5 separate regions of the Homo sapiens genome follow, and all the other regions are linked to region 4. The links are contacts of gene promoters, found by promoter capture Hi-C in blood cells and fetal thymus (Javierre and others, 2016). All regions are on one chromosome and are shown on one strand. The core of a region is centred on a gene start or on the middle of the fragment in contact, and the rest is flanking DNA. Distances in the headings are between cores, read along the strand shown. Region 1 overlaps KCNG2 (potassium voltage-gated channel modifier subfamily G member 2). Region 2 overlaps CTDP1-DT (CTDP1 divergent transcript). Region 3 overlaps KCNG2 (potassium voltage-gated channel modifier subfamily G member 2). Region 4 holds the start of NFATC1 (nuclear factor of activated T cells 1). Region 5 overlaps CTDP1 (CTD phosphatase subunit 1).

What was found. Contacts are between HindIII fragments. The CHiCAGO score rates a contact against its expected background, and 5 or more counts as called.
Region 1: a fragment that was not itself captured here is called in contact with the fragment with the promoter of NFATC1 in region 4 in 1 of 17 cell types (monocytes); the score reaches 6.0 in monocytes.
Region 2: a contact is called between a fragment that was not itself captured here and the fragment with the promoter of NFATC1 in region 4, in 16 of 17 cell types (total CD4 T cells, M1 macrophages, non-activated CD4 T cells and 13 more). The highest score is 12.3, in total CD4 T cells.
Region 3: a fragment that was not itself captured here is called in contact with the fragment with the promoter of NFATC1 in region 4 in 1 of 17 cell types (monocytes); the score reaches 5.0 in monocytes.
Region 5: a fragment that was not itself captured here is called in contact with the fragment with the promoter of NFATC1 in region 4 in 4 of 17 cell types (fetal thymus, total CD4 T cells, total CD8 T cells and 1 more); the score reaches 5.4 in fetal thymus.

Annotation. Positions count from the first base shown.
Region 1 is chr18:79,856,034-79,860,622 of GRCh38, forward strand. It overlaps KCNG2 (potassium voltage-gated channel modifier subfamily G member 2), which reads left to right. Exons shown (of 4, transcript NM_012283.2): 2 at 346-419. Among named protein-coding and RNA genes, the nearest start is that of KCNG2, 60 kb to the left of the region's middle. RefSeq lists a silencer at 676-970 and enhancers at 676-970, 752-881. The HindIII fragment of the contact is 1,719 bases long and covers 1,573-3,291 here.
Region 2 is chr18:79,654,700-79,659,482 of GRCh38, forward strand. All of the region lies in intron 2 of CTDP1-DT (CTDP1 divergent transcript), which reads right to left. Among named protein-coding and RNA genes, the nearest start is that of CTDP1-DT, 23 kb to the right of the region's middle. RefSeq lists enhancers at 2,284-2,819, 2,820-3,355. The HindIII fragment of the contact is 5,390 bases long and covers 1-4,783 here.
Region 3 is chr18:79,823,445-79,828,030 of GRCh38, forward strand. All of the region lies in intron 1 of KCNG2 (potassium voltage-gated channel modifier subfamily G member 2), which reads left to right. Among named protein-coding and RNA genes, the nearest start is that of KCNG2, 28 kb to the left of the region's middle. RefSeq lists an enhancer at 2,531-3,730. The HindIII fragment of the contact is 777 bases long and covers 2,182-2,958 here.
Region 4 is chr18:79,393,111-79,397,818 of GRCh38, forward strand. It overlaps NFATC1 (nuclear factor of activated T cells 1), which reads left to right and starts at 2,820. Exons shown (of 10, transcript NM_001278669.2): 1 at 2,820-3,241. The coding sequence starts at 3,115. RefSeq lists enhancers at 1-221, 222-746, 1,451-1,570, 3,212-3,759 and silencers at 941-1,230, 2,656-3,055, 3,416-3,515. The HindIII fragment of the contact is 8,960 bases long and covers 488-4,708 here.
Region 5 is chr18:79,693,355-79,698,199 of GRCh38, forward strand. It overlaps CTDP1 (CTD phosphatase subunit 1), which reads left to right. Exons shown (of 13, transcript NM_004715.5): 2 at 1,871-1,954; 3 at 2,623-2,716; 4 at 4,506-4,634. Among named protein-coding and RNA genes, the nearest start is that of CTDP1, 16 kb to the left of the region's middle. RefSeq lists an enhancer at 4,449-4,845. The HindIII fragment of the contact is 7,815 bases long and covers 1-4,845 here.

The sequences.
Region 1 (4,589 bases), core at 1,182-3,681, 460 kb after region 4:
TTTGTAATCTCCTAAATCAAGTAATTAGCTTTAGAACATTTCTAATGTAGCATATAACTTACGTCCATATTTTAAAATGTATGTTCTGGGAGGAAGAAAGCCTTTTACAGCAAAAGTTCCAGGTTATACCTGATTATCCACTTATTTTAATAATTATTCATCCCTGCCTACAAAAAAATGGAGCATGCAATGGATTTGGCTACAAGGGAAGTCAACCTGTCCTGCAAGCCTGGTGTGTGTGCTCGCGGGGACTGGAGGGGTGGGGCGTCAGAGCCACGATGCTCCGCAGTAATAACGCAGGTGACTCTCTGTCCCTTAGGGTGAAACTGGATGTTCATTTTCCAGGTCGAAGCCGCTGGTCTCAGCTGTGTTTTCACCGGTTCCCTGAAAGAGAATACCCTGTACCTTCACAGAGCCAGGTAAACCCAGAACCTGCCAGAAGGGCAAGAAACCTCAAGTCGTACTGGGATTATCATTTTCCATTTCAGAGAGAGGGTCTTCTTGGTGGGTTCTTGTGCCTTCTGCTGATGGTAAAGCTGAGACTCTGGTGACTGTTGACACACACCTGTCAAAGGCATGCCTCACAGGCAGCCCAGAACTCAGGCGCAGCCCCTTCCGAACCCCGCCTGGGACTGCAGAGGACAGGGGAGCTCACGGGGCCGTCTGCCACGCCACAAAGGGCTCCAGCAGCTGGGTTTGCACGCTAGGCTTCTTCGACAAACTGGGACAGCTGCTGCTTATTCCGGGCAGTTTCTGAGGCAGCACGTTCAGACGACTTCCTGCTGCATTAGGAAGCTCCGTCTTGTGAGCCCTGGGGAGGCCGGCAGGTTGGAACCTTCAGAGCCTTTAATCCCCCAGAGCGCTTGACTTGTAGGGCTCGGGAAATCTCCGCAGCAGGTTTCCATGACCTAAGCAGCTGATTGCTTTTGAATAAAATCAGATGCCCTGCTCCAGCCCTTCTGCTGGGCCAGCCCTCCGTCCCAGAGGAGCTCTCCTGCTTTGTGGACCTCTCTGCCTGCCCCCCACAGCCGCCCCCACAGCCGCCCCCACAGCCCTGTGTGGTATTGGATGAATCGGACTTGTCTGTGTTCCTCAGATCTATGCTTCAGGCCATGTCCTTGGCATGGGGTGTCTGGCACAGAGGTTTGGATCACATGTTCACTGAGTGAACCTTGGGGCACAGAGGCACACATAACCATTTGAATCCTGACCACGTCCCCCCTCTTCTCATGCAGCGAACTTGGCGCTGAAGGTCACAGCACACGTGGTCCCGGTGATTATGGAGCGCTTCTCTCCTGGCCTCCATTGCAGTAGTCATCCAAGGAGCTTTCTCCCATTCAGAAGCGACTTATGCAATTCTTCACTGGGGTGCTGAGCTCTTACTGGCAAGCTAACTAATGCCATTTTGTTAGACTGTCTTTCCCTCACTCCTTCCTTTTCATTTGACTTTTTCCCCCTAAAATCTCTAATGAATCACACGCTTGGGTCGAGTGGGCAGTCTGCGAGCTACACTGAGCAAACCCACCACGCCCCCTCTTCTCTGGTTCCTGACTTGCCGTAGTGGTGGGTTTAAGCTTTACTTGGCAGAGGTCCTAGAATACAGTTGTCAGCAACAACCAGAAAAAGGGCTTGACGTTGGCGGTGGAAGGCAGCGGCTCTCAAGCCTCAGTGATGAGGCTTGCGTGTTACTGGATCCCCCCGAGACCTACTCACTCAGAATGATTTTTATAAATGGAGATAAAATTCACCTAACGTTATATTTACCATTTTTATGTGCACGATTCTGTGGTTTTTAGTGTATTAACAATGCTGTGCAACCATCACCACTATCTAATTCCAGGACTTTTCATCGTCCCAAAAGAAACTCTGAGCCATTAGCAGTCACTCCCCATCGCCCCTCTTCCCATCCTCTGGAACCCCCTTGCCGGCTTTCTGTCTCTGTGAATTTACTTATCATGGATATTTTATTTTATTTATTTTATTTTTTGAGACAGTCTCGCTCTGTCTCCCAGGCTGGAGCGCAGTGGCGTGATCTTGTCTCACTGCAACCTCTGACTCCCGGGTTCAAGTGATTCTCCTGCCTCAGCCTCCCGAGTAGCTGGGACTACAGGCGCCCGCCACTGCACCCAGCTAAGTTTTGTATTTTTTGGTAGAGACAGGGTTTCGCCATGTTGACCAAGCTGGTCTCAAACTCCTGACCTCAAGTGATCCACCCGCCTCAGCCTCCCAAAATGCTGGGATTACAGGCGTGAGCCACCGTGCCCAGCTCGGACATTTTATATAAACGGATTCCCAGTATATGTGACCTTTTCTGCCTGGCTTCTTTCTCTTAGCATAGGTTTTATCCACACTGTGGCATTAGCAGCACTTGGTTCCTGTTTGTGGCTGCATAACATTCCTGTATGGAGGCCCATATTTTGCTTCTCCGTTTATCAGTTGATGGAATTTGGGTTGTTTTCAGTTTTTGGCTATTCTAGTAATGCCACTGTGAACATTTATGTACAAGTTTTTGTGTGAACACATGTTTTCATTTGTCTTGAGTGTACATCTCGGAGTGGGGTCACCGGGTCACATGAGAACTCCATGTTTAAATTTTTGAGGAACTGCCAGACTGTTTTCCACTGTGGCTGTGACATTTTATATTCCCACCAGCAATGTACAGGGGTCCAATTTTTCCACATCCTTTCCAACACTTGTTGGGTTTTTTTTTTCCATTTGTTTGACTATAACGACCCTAGTGGATGTGAAGTGGTATCTTGTAGTTTTAATTTACGTTTCCATAATGACTAATGATATTGATCACCTTTCATGTGCTTATTAGCCATTCACATACTTCCTCGGGAGAAATATCTATTCAGATCCTCTGCCCATGTTTAAATTGGGTTGTTTGTCATTTGTTGTTGAGCTCCAAGAGTTCCTAACATCCTGGATACTGGACTCTTATCAGATACGGGACTTGCAGCTCTTTTTTTTTCCACCGTTACTTGTCATTCATTTTCCTGGTCCTGTTCTTTGATATACAAGAGTTTCATTGGAATGAAGTCCAATTTATCTTTTTTTCTTTTGTTGCTTGTGCTTTTGGCATTCTGTTTCAGAAACCAATGTCTCATCCATGGTCATGAAGATGTACAGTCTGTTTTCTTCTACGTGTGTTTTGGAGTTTTAGCTCTTACATTAAGGTCTTTGATCTAGTTTGAATTAGTTTTTATATATAGTGTGATGTAGGCATCTTGGTCCATTCAGTGTTGCTATAAAGGAATACCTGGAGCCAGGTAATTCATTTTAAAAAGAAGCTTGTGATGTCATCATGATTCTGATGTCTGGAAAAGTTCAAGATCAGGCATCTGCATCTGAGGAAGGCCACAGGCAGCTCCAGTCATGGCAGAAGATGGCGTGGAGCTGGTGTGTGCAGAGACCACACGGAGATGGAGGAAGCAAGGGCTAGGGGTGCCAGGCGGGTTCAACAGCCAACTCTGGAGTGAACTCATAGAGCGAGAACTCACTCATTACCATGAAGACACCTCCCAGCCATGCATGAGGGATCAGCCCCCATGACCCAAACCCCTCCCATTAGGCCCCACCTCCGACACTGGGTATCAAATTCCAATATAAGATTTGGAGGCCAATATCCAAACGATAGCAGGGTCCAACTTTATTTTTTTACATGTGGATAACCGTTTGTTGGAGACACTATTACTTCTCCATTGAATAGTCTTGACGACCTTGTCAAAAGTGAACTGACGGTAGATTTATGGGTTCATTTCTGGACTTTCAATTCTGCTCCATTGATTTTTATGTCTCTCTTTACACTAGTACTACACTCTTGATTGCTGTAGCTTTATACTCACTTTGAGTAAGTAGTAATGTACTAGTCCATGTTCGCATTCCTATAAAGGAATACCTGAGACTGGGTAATTTATAAAGAAAAGAGGTTTAATTCGCTCATGGTTCTTCAGGCTGTAAAGGAGGCACGGTGCCAATGTCTGCTAAGCTTCTGGGGAGGCTTTGGGAAGCTTCCAGTTATGGCAGAAAGCAAAGGGGGAGCAGGCACGTTACATGGTGAAAGCAAGAACAAGGTTGCGGGGTAGGTACCACACACTTTTAAACGAACAGATCTCATTTCGACACAAGATTTAGGTGGAGGCATGTAATAAAATGATATCAAGTAAGTTTGAGCCCTCCAACTTTGTCCTTTGTCAAGTTTGTTTTGGCTACCTTGCATTTCCAATAGAATTTTCAACTTGTCAATAGAATGTTCAACTTGTCAATGTCTTCAAAAAAGTTACTGGGATTTTCATATGGATTGGATTGACTCTGTTGATCAATTTAGGGAAGATTGCCATCTTAACAATATTAAGTCTTCCAATACATGAGCATGGAATGTCTTTTCATTTATTTAGTCTTAAAATTTCTTCCACCAATGTTTGTAGTTTTCAGTTTTCAGTGTAGGTTTCAGTTTCCACTCCTTGGTTAAATTTATTTCTAAGTATTTTATTCTTTCTGATGCTCTTATAAATGGAATTTTTTTAACTTCCTTTTCCGATTATTCATTGCTTTTGTATAGAAATACAACTGATTTTTTTTACCGA
Region 2 (4,783 bases), core at 868-3,367, 260 kb after region 4:
TCATTCATAAATGATATGTGTTTTTACCATGGAAACTGCAAATAATCTACCGATATACTATTAGAAATAAAAGATCTTAGTAAGGTGAGTGCGTGGCGCCAGTTCATGAAAATCCACTGCAGTTCTGTAAGCCAGCAGCAATCAGCCGGAAAACGGCAGTTTTTAAAAAGCTATCGTGTGCAATAGCAACAGAAAATAAAGTAACCAGGAATAAATACAAAACAAAAATGAGCAAGTGCTATACGGAGAAAATCATAAAACCTTATTGGAGGACTTTGAAATGGACCTAAGCAAGTGAAATGGTAGACCAAGTTGACAGATGGGAAAATTCAAATCACAAAACTGCCAGTTCTCCTCAGAGCGACTTAGATTCCACACAGCCCTGTTAAGGCCCTAACAGGTTTTATCAATAAACTTGACACATTAATTCTACAAGTTATGAAACAACAAATACCAAGAACAGCCACAAAACTTCTGAAGAAACTTCTAAAGAATCGTGGGGCCCTGGCCCTCCCAGATGTCATGACTTACGGAGCTCTAGCAATTCCAACAGCGCAGTAGAAGCCAGAATAGAAAATCTGGCCTGGCCGGTGCGTGGCTCACGCCTGTCATCCCAGCACTGTGGGAGGCCAAGGTGGGCGGATCACCTGAGGTCAGGAGTTCGAGACCAGCCTGGCCAACATGGTGAAACCCCGTCTCTACTAAAAAATACAAAAAAATTAGCCAGGCTTGGTGGCACATGCCTGTAGTCCCAGCTACTCGGGAGGCTGAGGCAGGAGAATCACTTGAATGAGGGAGGCAGAGGTTGCAGTGAACTGAGATCACGCCACTGCACTCCAGCCTGGGCAACAAAGCAAGACCCTGTCTCAAAAAAAAAAAAAAAAAAAAAACAGAGACTGGTATATATCAGAGATGACATCACAGATCAAAGAGAACAGAAGTTTTTCAATATATAGTGCTGGGACAATTGGTTATTCATATGGAAAATGAATTGGATTCCTGCCTTACATCATATATGAAACATCCATTTCTTATTAAGTAAATGGTTAGCTGTGAAGGGCAAATTTCATACATTTTAAAAGTATAAAAGGAAGATATCTTTAAAATCCTCATGTTAGGGAAGGCATTCTTAAAATTAACAGCTTCTGTTCATCAAAGTGTCTCAGAAAGAAAATGAAAAAGACAAACACAAAATTGGTAGACAACATGAGTAACATATAAACAATAAAATACTTTCCTTCAGAAGCCACAGGGAACTACTACAAATCAGTAATAAAAAGACAAACACCCCAACAGAAAAATGAGCAACAAACATGAACAGGCATTTCACAGGAAAAAAAACTCAAATGGCAGATAAAAAATAGAAAAATAAGCTAAACCATATGGTCATTAGGAGACTGACAATCAGAACTACAAGTTTTCATTTTAACACAGGTTTTTACTTGGCATGGCAGAGACCAAGTTGGATAACATAGACTTGTTGAGGATGTGGATGGAAAGTAACTCCTTTGTTGCTGGTGGGATTATAAATTAAAACAACCATTTCAAAAAATTGGTTGTCACTTCATTCATCTGAACATTTGCACACTCTATGATTCTGCAGTCCCCTCCACACACACACCCTCCTCCACACGCACACCCTCCGGAGGCTTTAACTCAGGTGCACCAAGAATCATACAGAATGTTCGCTGCAGTACTTCCCATGAAAGCAACTAAATGTCCATGTATAAAGACTCAGGAACACATTCTGTTACACCAAATGTCCATGTATAAAGATGGCATGAACACGTTCTGTTACAGCCACGTAATAGGATATTATACAGCAATCCCAATCAACAAACCACAGCCAAACAAAATCATTTAGAGGAAGATGCAGATACACAATGATTAGTGCAACAACCATCACTGAAGAATATATATGATGCTATTTTTATAAACCTCAGAAACAAGCCAAACTAAACAATATCTTTGTATGTGTATATATATATATATCTTTGTATATGTGTGTGTGTGTATATATATATCTTTGTATGTGTGTGTGTATATATATATATATATATATATATACTCATGCAATAAAACACCATAGAAAAGGAACATGATCAACACCAGGTTGAGGCTGGTGGATCTGCTGGTGGGGAAGCAAAGGGCAGAGTGGGATGGGGAGCTCTCCAGCGGTTGTTGTGATGTTGGTGACACCCTGGATTTCAGGTCAGCTGATGGGCTCATTGTAGGGTTAGGCTTCATAGCTCACCCAATATGTTACACACAGTCTGCTCTGTACTGTATGGGGAGCCTGGAAGCTGGAAACCCTGGAGAAAAGTGGCCACACTCAGCACCTGGCCAGGCCTGAGGACCCGGGGCTGTGAAAGAAGCTAGGCCAGGGAGGCTGTGAGGGATGGCAGGATGGAGATGGCGGCCAAGGAAACAGAGGCGGGGGTCAGAGAACACGGGGGTTCCACACTCCTCCTTGAGAGGTCTGAGTCCAGGAGGGCTTTGTGATACTGAGAAAAAGGAGGCGAGGTAAATGACAATGGCAGTCCTCTGACTCCGGACCGCGTTGTTCAGTTGGCCTGATCCCAAGTGAAACAGCATTGCCGTCCACCGTGCCCTTGGTCCACAGAAGAGCGGCAGGTGTAGCTGCTCCGTGGGCCAGTGGGAGGGTGGGATGTCTGCGTGGGGATGACCAGACAGGGCCGCCCTGGTCTCAGCTGCAGAGCCTCCTGGCCCAGACCTCGCCCTGCACAGAGAAGGCCGGCAAGACTGCACTCCCTGCTGCTCTGTCCACAAAAGGTTGGCAGGGAACTCCCGCTGAGACAGAAGAGACCTGCTTTTGTTTTGCCCCAGCCTGCAGTGGCTCCAAGTTATGCCAAAATGAAACCACGTCAGTCACAGAGAGCCCACAGGTCGGCGCCAGCAGCTTCTTTCACTCGTGAAAGCAGCAAGGCCAGCAGAGGTGATACCCTGGGAGGATTGAGTCTTCCTTCCAGCAGGACACTTTAACACCCTGGGCCTAATGCACCGATTCTTACCCGGTGCTTTTCACTGGCGTCCTTGCCATTTTCCCCCAGCAACGTGCATCCCAGCTGCATCTCAGGAGAGACGGAGGAAGGTCCGGGCTCACGCGCATCCCAGCTGCGGCCCAGGTGAGGTGGAGGAAGGCCCTGCTCATGTTGCCCTCACCACTACCTGCTGAGGGAGCGAGTTTCTGGGAGTGATATCTTGAGCCTCTTCTGCTTGATCTCCTGGGAGGGCTCATCCGTTCAGGTCCACAGGACATTTTAAAGAGCTCCCTGTGCGATCGTGAGGTATATTGAAGTTTAAGAACCACTACTTCAGGAGGTTTGTGCTATTATAAGGCCAATATTCTGCTCTATTTTATGTTCTATAAATGTGAATTTTATACTTTGGATTTTCTAAAAGAAGGACATGTGTTCTTATGTTGTTTATCAATATACTAAAAATATTAGAATAAAAACAACACGTGGAAATGGCTGCTTTAAATGTCTAAGATGCTCACCCCAACAAACTGGCAACGGCTACTGCTGCAGTTCCAAACCACGGCAATAAAGTGAGTATCACAATAAAGCAAGTCACATGCATCATTCTGGTTTCCTGGTGCTTTATAAAATTATGTTTACACTATACTGTAGTCTTATTAACTGTGAAATACCATTATGTCTTAAAAAATGCACATGCCTTAATTGAAAACTAATTTATTGCTAAAAAATGACGACCGTCTGCCCCTTCAGTGAGTCCAAATCTCTTGCTGCTGGAGGGTCTTACCTCAGTGCTGACAGCTGCTGACTGATCAGGGTGGTGGCAGCTGACGGCTGGGGTGGCTGTGGCAATTTTTAAAAATAGGACAGCAGCGAACTTTATCGTGTTGATCAACTCTTGCTTTCACGAGAGTGTGATGCCGATGGACAGCGTTTTACCCACAGCAGAGCTTTGTTCAGAATCAGTTAATCTGCTCACACCCTGCCGCTGCTTTATCAACTCGTTTACGGAATATTCTAAATTCTTTGTTTCATTTCAACAATCTTCACCGTGTCTTCATCAGGAGCAGATTTCATCTCAAGAAACCACTTTCTTTGCTCGTCCAGAAGCAGCAGCCCCTCGTCCGTCCAAGTTTCATCCTGAGATTGCAGCAGTTCAGTCCCATCTTCAGGCCCCGTCTAATCGTCTAATTCTAGTTCTCTTGCTATTTCCACCACGTCTGAAGTTATTTCCCCCACTAAAGCCTCAAACTCCCCAAAGTTATCCCTGAGGGCTGGAATCAACTTCTTCTAAACCCCTGTTAATGTTGATATTTTGACGTCCTCCCATAAATCATGAATGTTCCTAATGGCATGTAAAATGATGAATTCCTTTCAGAAGGTTTTCAATTGACTTTGCCTAGATTCATCAGAGGAATAAACTATAGCCTTAGAAAACGTATTTCTGAAATAATAAGACTTGAAAGTCAGAATCATTCTGGATCCTTGGGCTGCGGGGTGGATGTGGTGTCAGCAGCATGAAAACAACATTCCTCTCCTGTACGTCTCCATCAGAGCTCTTGGGTGACCATGAGCAGGAATTTTTCTGAAAAGAATCTCTCTTTCTGAGCAACAGGTCTCAAGAGTGGACTTAGAACATGCGGTAAGCCATGCTGTGGACAGAGGTGCTGTCATCCAGGCTTCGTTGTTCCGCGGATGGAGCACAGGCAGAGGAGATTTAGCATCATTCTTAAGGGCCCTGGGATTTTCAGAATGGCAAATGAGCACTGGCTTCAACATTAGCC
Region 3 (4,586 bases), core at 1,320-3,819, 430 kb after region 4:
GCTCACAGCCAGGCCAGGGGTTGTGGTAGGATTTTTAAATTTTTGCCAGTCTCATGGGTGAGAAATGGTATCTCAGTATTGTTTTAATCTGCACTTCTCTGATTACGAGTGTGCTTGAACATGTTTTCCATACGTGTGAGAGTCATTTTTATCTTTTGTGAATGGCCTGTTCATGTGTTTCCCCATTTCTCGATGGGGTTTTTGGTCCTTCACCCCCTGATGTTTAAGAGTTCATGCTATATGAGTTTTTCCCCTTGTTGTTTTTCTTTTTCCACGTGTGCCCAGCTCTTTATGCACATTTGAACCTTAGTATCGACATGTCCAACTCCATAAAATAGCTTACCCTGTTTTACTGGGATTGAGTGGAACTGATGAGCTAACACCAAGAGGAAGCCACCTCCACAGCGCCAAGTCTCCTGTCCAGGAGCATGGCTCGCTTTCCATTTGTTCATGTTTACTTTCGTGTTTTAAATTTGTTCTTGTAAAAACAGTACACATTCCTTGTGAAATTTGTTCCTACATGTTTTTTTCCTACTGTAAATGGACTTTTTCTTTCATCAATTTAATTTAATTTTTGAGACAAGATCTCACTCTGTCACCCAGGCTGGAGTGCAGTGGCACGATCTTGGCTCACTGCAGCCTCCGCCCCCCAGGCTCAGATGATCCTCCCACCTCTCAGCCTCCCAAGTAGCTGGGACTACAGGCATCACCACATGTGGGTAACTTGTATTTTTTGTAGAGACAGGGTTTCGCCATTTTGCCCAAACTGATCTTGAACTCCTGGACTCAAGCGATCCCCCGACCTTGGCCTCCCAAAGTGTGGGATTACAGGCGTGAGCCTCGGTGCTTGGCCATAAATGGACTTTTCCAATGATTGTGTTCTTTGTTGTTTGTGTATAGGAAGGCTGTTGATTTTATAGCCTGCTACTTTTCTGAATTTTTTTATTCAATAAATAAGTTTTGTCATTGATTCTCTGGGATTTCCAAGTATAAGATGATCCTATCTGCAAAGAGAGACGGTTTCACCCCTTCTTTACCTGCTCTATGCTTCTGATTGATTTTTGCTGTCTAGTTTTATTCATTAATACCTCTCGTATAATGTTAAATATATCAGAGGTAGTGGGTATCCTTGTTTCTGATTGCCATGGAAATGCCTCTAGTGTTTCTCCATTAAGAGAGCGGCTTTAGAACTTAACACAGGCTGCCGGTGCTGGTGAAATACCCATCAACGCCCTGAGTATTCATCAAAGGCTGCTTGGTATCTATGGAGATGATTACATGACTTTTCTACCTAAATTTATTATTATGGTGCATGATGTTAATGGATTTCCTACCACTGAACCTACTTTGCACCTTCTGGAACAAATTCTACTTTGTCGCAGTATTTTTTTTTCTTAAGAGGCATTGAATTCTGTTTAATAATATTCCGTTTAGAATTTCTGCATTGGTATTGATGAGTGATATTGAACTTAAGTTTTCTTTCTTCTTATTATATTTGGTTTAAATATCAGTGTTTGCTTACTTCATAAAATGAACTAGAGAGCTTTCCTTCCTTCTCAATGTTCTGAAATAATTTGTAGAGCATGGAGACTATCTAGGCTTTATAATCTTGGGAGAATTCTCTGTAAACCTGTCGGGGCTTAGTGCTTTGATAGGACAGTCAGTAGTAACTTTCTGTTTCTTCAATGGAAATGGGTCTGCTGAAGTTTCTAACTCTCCTGGGACAGTTTTTGGTGTCTCTGTTTCCCGAGAACATCTGCACTTCCTCTGGGTTTTCAAATGTGTTTGCAAAGAGGACTGCACAGTGTCTCCTCTGATTGTTCAGTCTGTTTCAAACGTTACATTTCTTGAATATAATAATGTGGCTTTAAAAAAGAAAAAGGAAGACACTTGAAGAATGGGAAAATATCCCTAAGTCATCCTACAGCTATAAGCCTTGTTTTCAAAGCAGCACATCACAGACTCGTGTTTACCGTCAGTTTACGAAGAATGCGCTGATGTCTGGGTCCATAAAAATATCTTTCCTGTCCTTTTCTGCTGTTTGCTGACGAAATGCCTCTTCATAAAAAATAGCTTTAACGCCTGAGAGTTACAGAAGCTCCCCTCAGCGAGGAGTCTCAGAAACCACGGAGGTTTTACCAAGTCCCTGTCGGTGAACATCAACTTGACTGACGGGGCGCAAGCTTCAGGAGATGAAGTGTCAATAAGGATTAATACGAAGGTAGATCAATCACGCTGTCATTTCATAGGGCTTCAGTTTCTTTCTGTAAAAACCCGTCAGATGTGATTTTCCCTCTAAAATTAGAATCGTTTTTATTCCTTTTTCCAGTTACTAAAATTACCTGTATCGTCTGGGGGAAAATACAGAAGGACAGAAAAAAGAAAGTAAAAATCACCTGACCTGACCGTGCACTGTCAGCCTGTCTGTGGCCTTCCTTCCGGAAGTTTCTTTATGCGTCTGCCCATGGACGGCAGGTGGGAGCGCGGACACCTGTCGCCCTCTCGGCCGCTCTGGGACCTGCCCTTTCTTTGAAACGCTGTGTCCAGGGCATGACCCCCATAGAGACGTGGGCCTGGGTGGAGGCTGCAGCTTAAGAGGAAGCTCTCGGCGTCGGGGCCTGTGCCCTGCCGGCCGCCCTGACCTTGGAGGAAGCGGGCGCTGACACACTGTGGGCGACAGGAAGGGCCGGGAGCTCTGTGGCCGTTGGCAAGGCCAGGAACCCGGGTAGTCGAGCTGAAACTGTGATCTGAGGCGCGAGGCCTCCGTGGGAGAAGGGTCGCTTCAGACGGGGACCGAGGGCCTGGCTCTGGGAAGGTGGGTCCTGCTCCCTTCTGAGGCAGGCAGAGCTGCAGGGAAAGCAGGTGTGTGGAGGCCCCTCCAGAGCCAGGCTCCAGGCGCTTCAGGTACGGCGCCCGTTCTGCTCCCTTCCCAGGCCTGCCCAGCTGCCCACCGCACGAAGCTTCACAACTGAGCGAGCAGCTCCTCACGGAAGGTTAGATTCGGCGCGTTACGTCATTACGTTCAGTGAAAGAACTGAGTGAGCAGCTCCTCACGGAAGGTTAGATTCGGCGCGTTACGTCATTACGTTCAGTGAAAGAACTGAGTGAGCAGCTCCTCACGGAAGGTTAAGTTCGGCGCGTTACGTCATTACGTTCAGTGAAAACTGAGTGAGCAGCTCCTCACGGAAGATTACATTCGGCGCGTTACGTCATTACATCCAGTGAAAGAACTGAGTGAGCAGCTCCTCACGGAAGGTTAGTTCGGCGCGTTACGTCATTACATCCAGTGAAAGAACTGAGTGAGCAGCTCCTCACGGAAGGTTAGTTCGGCGCGTTACGTCATTACGTTCAGTGAAAGAACTGAGTGAGCAGCTCCTCACGGAAGGTTAGTTCGGCGCGTTACGTCATTACGTTCAGTGAAAGAAGGTGTGGGAGTGACTAATCACTTGTTTGATAAAATTGATTGAAAAAGAAATTACCAACTAAAAATTATAATTATTAAAATGTAAAAGTTTAATTACAGTTTCTAGGAAATTCGCCTTGGCTTCTGCCCGCTTTCTGTTCAGGACGCTGAGCTTTGCTGCTTGGTGCCTTGTGAGGACGTGGCGTCCCCGGCGATGCAGGGGCCGGGCCGCGCCAGCCTCTGTTGCTCCTCTATGGGGTGGTGACAGCCTCAGGCCTCCCTGGGGACAGGCTGGGGACTCCCAGATACTGAAGCTTAGCAGGTGCGCCCCCACATGGTCATGGAGCTGGGGCTCGGGCCAGACCAGCGACACCCTCCAGGCCTCAGTGGTCCTGTGTCCACCCCGGAGCCCCCAGGGCAGGAGATGTGGGTGGGATCCCTGCAGGAAACCGTGAGGGTTTCAAACTAAGCCTCCTTTCGTTTTCCCTGGCGGTGTCAGCATCGTGCCTCTAAAGAGTTCTGTTCCTTGGTCAGAGTTCCAGGTGAGATGCTATCTTAGGTAGGAGAGGTCATCTGGCCCCAGCCAGGGTTTCGGCCCCACCAGTGGGGCAGGGCCTGGGGACTGGTAGTTTAGCACAGCGGCTCTCAAACTTGTGGTGCTGGGAATTTTTAGGACCTCCAGCAGCCTGTGTTCCTGGAGGAAGGAGGGTGTGGCAGAGGCCCTGGAGTCCCAGTGTCTGAGAGGCCAGCAGAGGAGGGGCTCAGGATGGAGCGGGAAGCGCGGGGAGAAGAGCGGGGACTCAGCCTCCCCCCTGGATTTCGCTTCTTCTGAATGCAGGCCCTGGAACCCCGCTTATTACCCGCCCACCCAGTGCCGCAGCTCTGGAAATGCAGCTTGGTGGGCTGGACCCAAGTCTCTCCATGTGGCTCCATAGGAAAAATACTGATGCAAGTAACTACTTCAGAGACAAAAACAGTTTTAACAATGTACCAATTATAATCCTTTTACCTATATGTTTAAACAGAATTAGCAGTTAGAATTATACTGGAACATAATATTCTTTTTTCTTTCTTTCTTTCTTTTTTTTTTTTTTGAGATGTAGTCTCCCTCTGTTGCCCAGGCTGGAGTGCAGTGGCGTTGTCAAGGCTCACTGCAACCTCTGCCTCCCTGGTTCAAGTGATT
Region 4 (4,708 bases), core at 1,570-4,069:
TCAAGTGACCACCGCTGTGGGCCAGAATGCAAAACTGCAGGAACAGAACATTCGCAGGAACAGAACACAGTCGTATTAAGTGATTTTCCCGAGCAGGAAGTGGCATCTGGCCTGCGGTTCAGTAGGGGGAGGAAAGGGTGGGCGCACCTGCCCCTGGCTGGCGCACCTGCCAGGTAGCCCCACGCGGCACCGCGTGTGCCGAGCGCCCCTGAGGATGGAAAGCCCCACGCGGGGCAGGTGGCACCCACCCTCCGAAGACGGGACGGGATGGAGCGTTGAGCTTCGGGGCAGCTCCGGCCCGGCCCGCGCTGGAGACGCCCGCATCTGCCAGGATGGCGTCTCATAGCCCTGGTGCTCACACATGACGCCAGGAAGCCCCAGCAACAGTGACCGCCCAGGCTCTAGAAAATATTGGACGGGGTGGATGAACACCCAAGTGCGCTCCAGGAGAAGGGATTTGGCACCCCAAGGGGCTTTTAAAACGGTAAGCTTCTAGGGGTGTCTTTGCCCCCAATAATCCATAGAAACAACAGTCATCTAAAAATAGTCTTGTTTTCTGTCCTAAGCTCCTTTTAACTTTGTTAGTCATCACCAATCCTAAAATAAAACCCGTGTAACGTCTCCCCTAGTAGCGGCTATAAACAAACCTACGAGGAGGCAGGAGGAAGAGGAAAGGGGCGCAGGGCGCTCGGGGAGCAGAGCCGGGGGCCCGCGGTGGCCGCAGAGGCCGGGCCGGGGCGCAGAGGCCGGGCGAGCTGGCCGCGCTCTGGGCCGCCGCCTCCGGAACTCCCTGCGCCTGGCGCGCGGCCACCGTGGTCCCGGCAACGGCATTAAACAGAGGGAAACAGACCCGGGATTCCGTCACCCGGGCGGGGGGATAAGGACGGCTTTGAGAGCAGACAGGAAAAGGGAGCTTTTCTGCATGGGGTGAAAAAATTATTTATTGAAGGAGGAGGAGGCGGCAGCGGAGGAAGGGGAGGGGCGGGAGGAGGAGGAAGAGCCGGCCGCCCCCGCCCCGGCCCCGGCTCCTCAGGAGCCAAGGGCAGCCTCGCCAGGTCGGTCCCGGGCTCGAGGACCGCGGCTGGGGTCGAGGGGCTCAGTCTCCCACGTGACCGGCTGGGCGCGCCCCGCCAGACCCGGCCTCGGGATTCCCTCCTCCCGGCGAGTCTCCGCCCGCCCCGTCCTGGAGGTGGGGAGAAGGAGGGCGGGGCGGGGGGGACGGAAACTCTCCCCGCCAAATCCTGGCCCCAGGCCTGGGGACACTCGCGGCGGGAAGATTTGGAGGGGAGGGGAGGGGGAGGGGCGTGGGGGCGCGGCCTCGCTGGAGTCCCCCTGACCCCCCGACCCCCGCCCACCGGCCTGGGCGTCCTCCCGCGGCCCCTCCTCCCCTCCCGGCGCCCGGTGCTCTGGGGCGCGTGCCACGCCTGGCTCGGCGCCGTAGGGGCCCCCGCAGGTAGAGACCCCTGGAAATGGCCTCGACGCCGCAGGAGCGAGGCGGCCACCACCCCGCTAATCCGGGCACGTCTCTCCAGGCCGAGGCCTGCGGTGGAAAAGCCGGGGTTCCATTTGTGCTGAGTCGGGGCGGCCGAATGGAGCCAGGCCTCGGGACGCGGGACGGACGGGCTCTGGCCGCGCACCTTCGCGGGCTCTGCAGCGCCCGACCGCCTCCCCCGGCAGGGAGGAGGCGCTTGTGGGGGGCACCCACGGGGCACAGTGATCCCTGGGGGTCTGCGGACCTCCTGGGCCCCGCAGCAGACACGAGTTTAGCCTTTGGGTTTAGTTTAAATCACATAAGGGTGTCGTGCAATCGATTTATGGTTTCTACACACCAGACACTTTAACCTCCAACCCCCCCCATCCAAAGCCAACAAGAAAATGCGGTGCCGTGTTGGCAGCTGAGCTGCGCCCGAAGAGACGCAGGGAGACGTAAGAGAGGAAAGTGTGAGTGGCCGGGGGGCCTCCCCCCGTCAGAAGTCGCGCAGTCGCGCCCATAAAACGCCCCCTCCGGGCGGCTAGGGCAGGTGAGCGCGTCCCCGGGCCTCCCCACGCCGGCCCCTGCCACAGGCCGTCTAGGTCGAGCAGATATTTACAGAATAAAAATGACAATAACTCGACGTCCCGGGACGGCCACGCAATCTGTTAGTAATTTAGCGGGATGGGAATTTCCTTTCTAGGGCCTGCCAGTGAAGCGCTTTTCCAAATTTCCACAGCGGGGGAAGCCTGCGATTTTACATAATGACTTCAGCATGCCGGGCTTTCTCGACACCCCTCCCCGGCCCCCGGCCCCCGCCCCCCGCCCCTTTTCCAGCAGGGCCGGGCTCCCTCCGGACACCCGCGTGGACTCAGGCGTCCCGTCTGGCCCGTTCGCCCCCGTTTCCCCCGCCAGCCCCAGCGCCCCCCTGCCCGGCCCCCGGATTCCCCGTTCCCGCCCCTACGCCCCCATCCCCTCCCCGTGCGCCCCTCCCCGTGCGCCCCCCTCCCCGTGCGCCCCCCCTCCCCGTGCGCCCCCCTCCCCGTGCGCCCCCCCTCCCCGGGCGCCCCCCTCCCCGGGCGCCCCCCCTCCCCGTGCGCCCCCCCCTCCCCGTGCGCCCCCCCTCCCCGTGCGCGCCCCGCCTCTTGCGCCCCTGCCCCCAGGCGAGCGGCTGCCGCGGCGCGGGGAGGGGCGGGCGCTCGGCGACTCGTCCCCGGGGCCCCGCGCGGGCCCGGGCAGCAGGGGCGTGATGTCACGGCAGGGAGGGGGCGCGGGAGCCGCCGGGCCGGCGGGGAGGCGGGGGAGGTGTTTTCCAGCTTTAAAAAGGCAGGAGGCAGAGCGCGGCCCTGCGTCAGAGCGAGACTCAGAGGCTCCGAACTCGCCGGCGGAGTCGCCGCGCCAGATCCCAGCAGCAGGGCGCGGGCACCGGGGCGCGGGCAGGGCTCGGAGCCACCGCGCAGGTCCTAGGGCCGCGGCCGGGCCCCGCCACGCGCGCACACGCCCCTCGATGACTTTCCTCCGGGGCGCGCGGCGCTGAGCCCGGGGCGAGGGCTGTCTTCCCGGAGACCCGACCCCGGCAGCGCGGGGCGGCCGCTTCTCCTGTGCCTCCGCCCGCCGCTCCACTCCCCGCCGCCGCCGCGCGGATGCCAAGCACCAGCTTTCCAGTCCCTTCCAAGTTTCCACTTGGCCCTGCGGCTGCGGTCTTCGGGAGAGGAGAAACTTTGGGGCCCGCGCCGCGCGCCGGCGGCACCATGAAGTCAGCGGAGGAAGGTAAGCCCCGCGCGGCCTCCGCCCCCGGACCCCTGCGCCCCCCACGGCCCGGGCCGCGCCCCCCGACCCCGCCCCCGTCGCCCGCACGGAGGGGTCCGGGCCAGAGAACGAGGTCGGCCGGGTCTGTGCGCCCAGGGAGGGGCGCGGCGCGGACCGGGAACGGCGTCCCCCAGCTCCCAGCAGCCCGGTTCCGAGCGCGCCTTCTGCCAATAGGTGTCTCCTCTGCCCCAGCGCTGAGGGCGCGAGGCGAGGCCGCCGCGGGTCCCGCCGAGGAAGCGGCTCGCAGGCCGGCGATTTGGGGACGGGCGAGGCTGGGCCGTCAGGACCACAGAGGGCACGTGGGAGGGAGGAAGGGAGGCTTCCTTGGGAGTGAAGGATGCCCCGTGTCTTCCTGAGCGAGGCAGAGCCACCCTCTGGCGCCAAGATCGCGGTTTGGGGGTTCTGCGCCCCCCACCCCCACCCCGAGCTCGTGGCGGCGTCTCCCTCGCGCCGCGCCCCTGAATTCCCCAGGGCCGAGCCCGTCACGCCGGCTCCTGGACCTGCAGGACCAAAAGATCCAAAGCGCGGCCGCAGCACAGCCCCGAATTTAAGCCATTTTGAAATCCTATAGGCAGGAGTTCCAGCCAGAGAAGATGTTTCAGGCAAGTTTGAAAAGGAACCGCCAAGTTTCGAGCTGCTTCTTTATAGTGAAAAAAAGATGGCACAGTGTGGGTCCCTGAAACCCGGTGTGGGGGGCGCTGAGACCCCCCTGCGGCGCATCTCACATTCCAGTCCCCCACCTTAGCCCGTCCCCGGCACACACCCCTGGCGATGCCGGGTGGGCTCCTGCAAGTGGCTTTGAAAATACCCTTGCAGAGGTGTGAGCATACGAGTTAGGGATTAGGGATTGCAATGCTAATGGAAATTGGAAGACGCTTTTCCAAATTCCTTACCAGCTCTGAAATATTTTATATAATTTATTTAAAGAGCGCCAGCACACCTGCCAACATATGTACTTCATAAGGGCAGACGTCCTTCCGAGCGCTGCCGCTTCCTGCGCGACCCTGATAACTGCGGGGCTTGCTTGAGAACCGGGCTCCCCCAGCTCTGGAAAACTCGCTGGTCTTAGCAGAGCTGAGCACAGGGCCGTGAGCTCCACGGAGGGGGGTCCGTGTGGTCGGTGCCCTGACGCTTCACGGGACGGGAGGTAGACACCACTTCATCCCAATGTTAGAAAATGTTGACATGTTTAAACCATGTCCCGTGTCAGTGTTTTACACAATGTGCTCTTGCTAGTAGCAGAGTTTAAAAAATTTTTTTTTGTTGGAGTTTCGGTTTTAAATCCTGGGACACTTACGCCGCAGTGTTCATTATCACTCCCTTTAGAAAGGCAGGTCTTTCCAAGTTCAGATCTCTGTACCTGAAGAGCCGGTGGCCGACCTGTAGTAAGGAGCCCCTTTCTTTTACGCAAGGAAAAAACACGACGGG
Region 5 (4,845 bases), core at 417-2,916, 300 kb after region 4:
TGATAAAATTAAGGAAATCATACTTGTCACCTTAGAAAGTTTAACACACTTTTTCAAACAAGGTGTCACTATTTTGTTGTCTGGTTTAAGAAAAAAACCTGATACAGGTTGAGTCTCCCATATCCAAACTGCTTGGAAACAGAAGTGTTTTGGATTTCTGGGTTTTTTTGGATTTTGGAATATTTGCACGTATACATGACGAGATGTCTTGGGGATGGGACGTGAGTAAACGCGGAATCCATTTGTGTTGCACATGCACTGTGTACGCACAGGCCCAGGACCCGGAGGAGCTCAGATTCTTGATAGTCACCGGCAGCCCACTCCATCCCCGAGGGCTCGGAGCCCCGCACCGTGTGTCCTCAGCACCGTTCCTCCTCCAGGGTGATCCGCACACGCCCATCCTCCTCCCCAGGAAGAACTCCCCTCCACTCCCCTCCAGGCTACAGACCCGCCCCTCCCATTCTCCCTGCAGGATGCTGGCTACAGACCCGCCCCTCCGAGTCTCCCTGAAGGATGCAGGCTACAGACCCGCCCCTCCGCTCCCCTGCAGGATGCAGGCTGCAGACCCGCCCCTCCCAGTCTCCCAGCACAGCCTGCCATGGCACAGTGGGCATGGAGGATGTGGCTCCGCCTTGTTTCCGCCTGTGGCCTGATCCTTGCGCCCTCTCGATGACATGGCTGGGGGTCTTGGTGGGCCATGGGGCATCCCGCCTGGAAAGGTCCCATTGACAGATGCAGCTTGGGTGGCTGTCTCATGTCCGCGGGTCAGGGTGGTCGGAGCAGCCCGGCTGGGACGGGAGTGTGGGGGCTGTGAGCACCTAGGGGCGGGTGCTGAGTGCTGGGCGGCCTCATGTCTGCAGGGCAGGGTGGTCGGAGCAGCCCGGCTGGGATGGGAGTGTGGGGGCTACAGGCACCTAGGGGTGGGCGCTGAGTGCTGGGCGGTCTCATGTCCACGGGGTGGGGTGGTCGGAGCAGCCCAGCTGGGACGGGAGTGTGGGGGTTGCGAGCTCCTAGGGACACTGAGTGCCGGGCAGCCTCGTGTCCGCGGGGCGCGGTGGTCGGAGCAGCCCGGCTGGGATGGGAGTGTGGGGGCTACAGGCACCTAGGGGTGGGCGCTGAGTGCTGGGCGGTCTCATGTCCACGGGGTGGGGTGGTCGGAGCAGCCCGGCTGGGGTGGGAGTGTGGGGGCTGCGGACACCTAGGGTCAGGCGCTGAGTGCTGGGTGGTCTCATGTTCGCAGGGTGGGGCGGTCGGAGCAGCCCGGCTGGGGTGGGAGTGTGGGGGCTGAGGGCACCTAGGGGCGGGCGCTGAGTGCCAGGCGGCCTCTGGTCTCATAGCCTTCAGATTTCAGCACTTCTTCCATGGCTTCTGCCAGAAGACCACTGTTTGGACAAATAAAACAGTTTGTGTTTATATAAAACGAACATTACAGTCATTTTGTCAGGAAAATGTAGTTGCATCAGCCTCTGTCTAGACTGGGAATGATATGAAAGTTTTAGATTTTATAAATTCTCTAACGGAAATGTCAGAGGATCACATATAAATAGTGTGTTTTGAGACAACTTTATGTTATCCCCAAGTCTCCTCTTTGGACCAGACATCCTTAGTTTTTTCAGCTGTTCCACGGGTGGCACGGGGGTGGTGAGGTGTGGTGGCGTGTCATTTTTCATGAGAGACACCTGTAGGTGGAAAGTCCTTTCATTTTATAGACAAAGAAATGCCCTCAAGGGGTGATGTCACCTGCCTACAAAGTTATGCAAGGGTTAGTGTAGAATTGGTACAAAAACCTAGATTTTAAAATTCTTACTTGGGGGCTCTTTTGATAAACCAAGAGATTTTAAAGTGTTGTTCCCCTTGTGTTTTTTTGTAGAGCGGTTCTGGTGAGGTTGGAAGGATGCAGCCACCCGGTTGTCATGAAAGGCCTGTGTGCTGAATGTGGCCAAGACCTCACCCAGTAAGTATCCGGAAGAGTGAGATCGCTGCCTGCTGGGGCTCGAGGTGGTGGCCTCCGGGGAGTCCGAGAAGCTGTGCTGGGAACACAGTGAGGCCCTTGGTTTCCCAGCGGCAGATGCAGACGCCTCCCTTGGGCCCCATACGAGTCACACTCAATGGGTTTCCCTGGAGGCAGTCCTTCCTGCTCTGTGACCCCAGCCTCATGCCATTCTCAGGTGTGGTGGGGGGGCATGCTGGAGGGCCGAGACCTGTTTTCTCCTGACTGAAGACGCAGATCGCTGAGTGCCTGGAGCAGCCCCTCCCTCTGGGCCGCTGAGCGCCCCATGCTGGGGGCTGCTTTACCTCTAATGCCAAGTGGGAGGTGCGGCAGCTACTTTTTCTGCGTTTTCATGGTTGAGGGCCTGTTTCTGCTTCTGTGTGACTTTGCAGTTTGTTTTCATGAAGGACTATGGCTCTGTGTGTTCATGAGTGTGGCCACGAGCTCAGTGTTTCCACCAGTTTTCCTGTCTGTGGAGAATGTTTCCACGTTTGCCGACAGAATCAAGTCTGTGCTAAGATAGCAGCGTGTGTCCGTTAAAACATCAGCTAGAATCCTGTCACTTAGAGCCCAGTGTGCATCTGTGCGCAGAGACTCAGCTGAAAGCCCTGAACCTGTCCTTGCACTTGCAGGTTGCAGAGTAAGAACGGGAAGCAGCAGGTGCCGCTGTCCACGGCGACCGTGTCCATGGTGCACAGCGTGCCGGAGTTGATGGTGAGCTCCGAGGTGAGCCGGGCATCAGTGGCGGCGTGTTGGGGAAGCGTGGTGCTCTGAGGAGGGCGGCTGCAGGAGGAGGGTGGCTGCAGAAGCACGGACGTGTGGTTGTCATCGTCGTTACTGAAACAACCCCTCATCACACGGATGACTTATGGGACTGCGGCCTTCCTGAAGCAGGGACGGTTGCCCTTGGTTCTCCACAGACAAGTCTGCCTGCAAAAGCGACTCAGGGCCCCGAGGCTGTGTGACCTGCGTGTCGGGAACACCAGGTGCTGCCGCCGCAGCTGTGAACAGCCAGGCTCAGCCTGGGTTCCCTTGAGCCAAGTCCTAACTGGGGAGGGATGTGACAGCTGCTCATGGAGCTCAGGAGGTGGCCGCGCTGCCGAGGCATGTGCTGGATGACCCGGGAGGGCAAAGCGCATATTGGGGCAGATAATGGCGAGGAGTCGGTGGCCGGGGGTAGGGGCGGGGGGACGTGGTTGGTAGCACCTTGTTGGCTACAGGAGCGGCTGCTGCTGGCACCATTGGGAAGCTGGCTCGGGAGAGTGGGCACATGCAGGGGCGGGTTGGGGGTCCCAGGAGTGTTTGCCTTGTAGCCGACAGGAGAGCCCATGGGGGGTACGCAGGGTGGAGAGGACGGGCAGGTGTTCACGTGCCCAGTTAAGAGTGAGATGGGTTTTTATCTTCGAGTGCTACGCCTCGTTTATGTATTTCAGGAGTTGCTGGGGCACTGTGGGTCAGCGGCTCCGGGCACCTCCTGTGCTTGAGGCAGACACCGTCTCCCCGACCTCGCTTCACCCCGTGGGTGAAAATGCTCTGGGAGCTGAGAAAAACTAGTTTGTGATCTTACAGACTTTCAGGGCTGCACAGTTTTGTAAATAGGTAAAACACTTTCCAGTGTTACGATTTTAGTAAATTCGTGCTTTTAAATGATGGACACCAATTTCAGTCTATCTTTTTATGGGAAAAGCAAAATGCCAGATACAGGATTCTGGGTTTTCTGAATTACCAAACTTTAAACAAATGTAAAATGTGTATGCGTAAACCAAAGCTGGCAAGTTTGAGGGTGAAGGGAGGAGGAAGTACCCCCCATCTTTCTGGCACCTGCCAGCCCTTCCGTGCGTTTCCCTTCGGGGATGGGCACGGGAGGAGGTCCCCCCTGAGCGGGACCAGGATTTTGTTGTGAAGAGTGAGGGCCAGTTACAGTGAGAAAGGCAGCGTGGTGCGTCACATCCCGTGTCCCATGCCGGGCTCCTGATGCCGGGGTGACCGGGCCCTTGTTAGGAGCTCCACTCTGGGCCCCGCGTGGAGGGACACCCCGATGCGCTGTTGCCAGGCCCCCGGGTCTCTTCGAGGCACAAGAATAGGCTGAGCGTGGAAGGTTCTGAGCGCGGGAGATTCTGAGCGCATTGCCCTTACCAGTCTCTGCTGCCCAGCTTGGGCCACCCAGCGTCTCCCAGCCGGCCGACTTGGTTTCTTCATTAATTTTGCAGTTCACTTTTATTGAGCACTCCATACTGTTGAATCCAGCTTTTATAGAAACAACCAGTTTCCCTTCCCCCTCCGTTTTCATTGGCTCATGTATTTAACTGAATTATAAAATTGTGGTCACAAGCGAGGTTGCCGTGACCAGGTTGGTGACCCAGCCCTGCCTCTCGGCCTGTACGGCGCAGTCCATGGAGCGTGGGGGGCTGGAGGGGAACACATTGATATAGTTTTGTGTTTCTCGATGAAATGGAGTTTTACCTTGGATGCAAACATACTGACTTTGTCATTTCTTGTTTCTTTTTAATTGTAGCAAGCTGAACAGCTGGGAAGAGAAGACCAGCAGCGACTGCACCGAAACCGGAAGCTGGTGCTCATGGTGGACTTGGACCAGACGTTGATTCACACAACCGAGCAGCACTGTCAGCAGATGTCGAATAAAGTGAGTGCAGTCAGCATCTACGGACAGTTTCCCAGGAACCGCGGGTCCTAGAATTTTGATTCAGAAGTGTGTTCTCTTGTTTTTTAGATGATTTCCCGTAGGTCAGCCTGGGTTTGGAAAGCAGACTTGCTAGTTCTGGGCGTGGGCCGTGTGTCTGCTGGGCTGTTGGGGAGCATCCGCGGCTCCCGGGCAGACATCCCGACGCCCACTG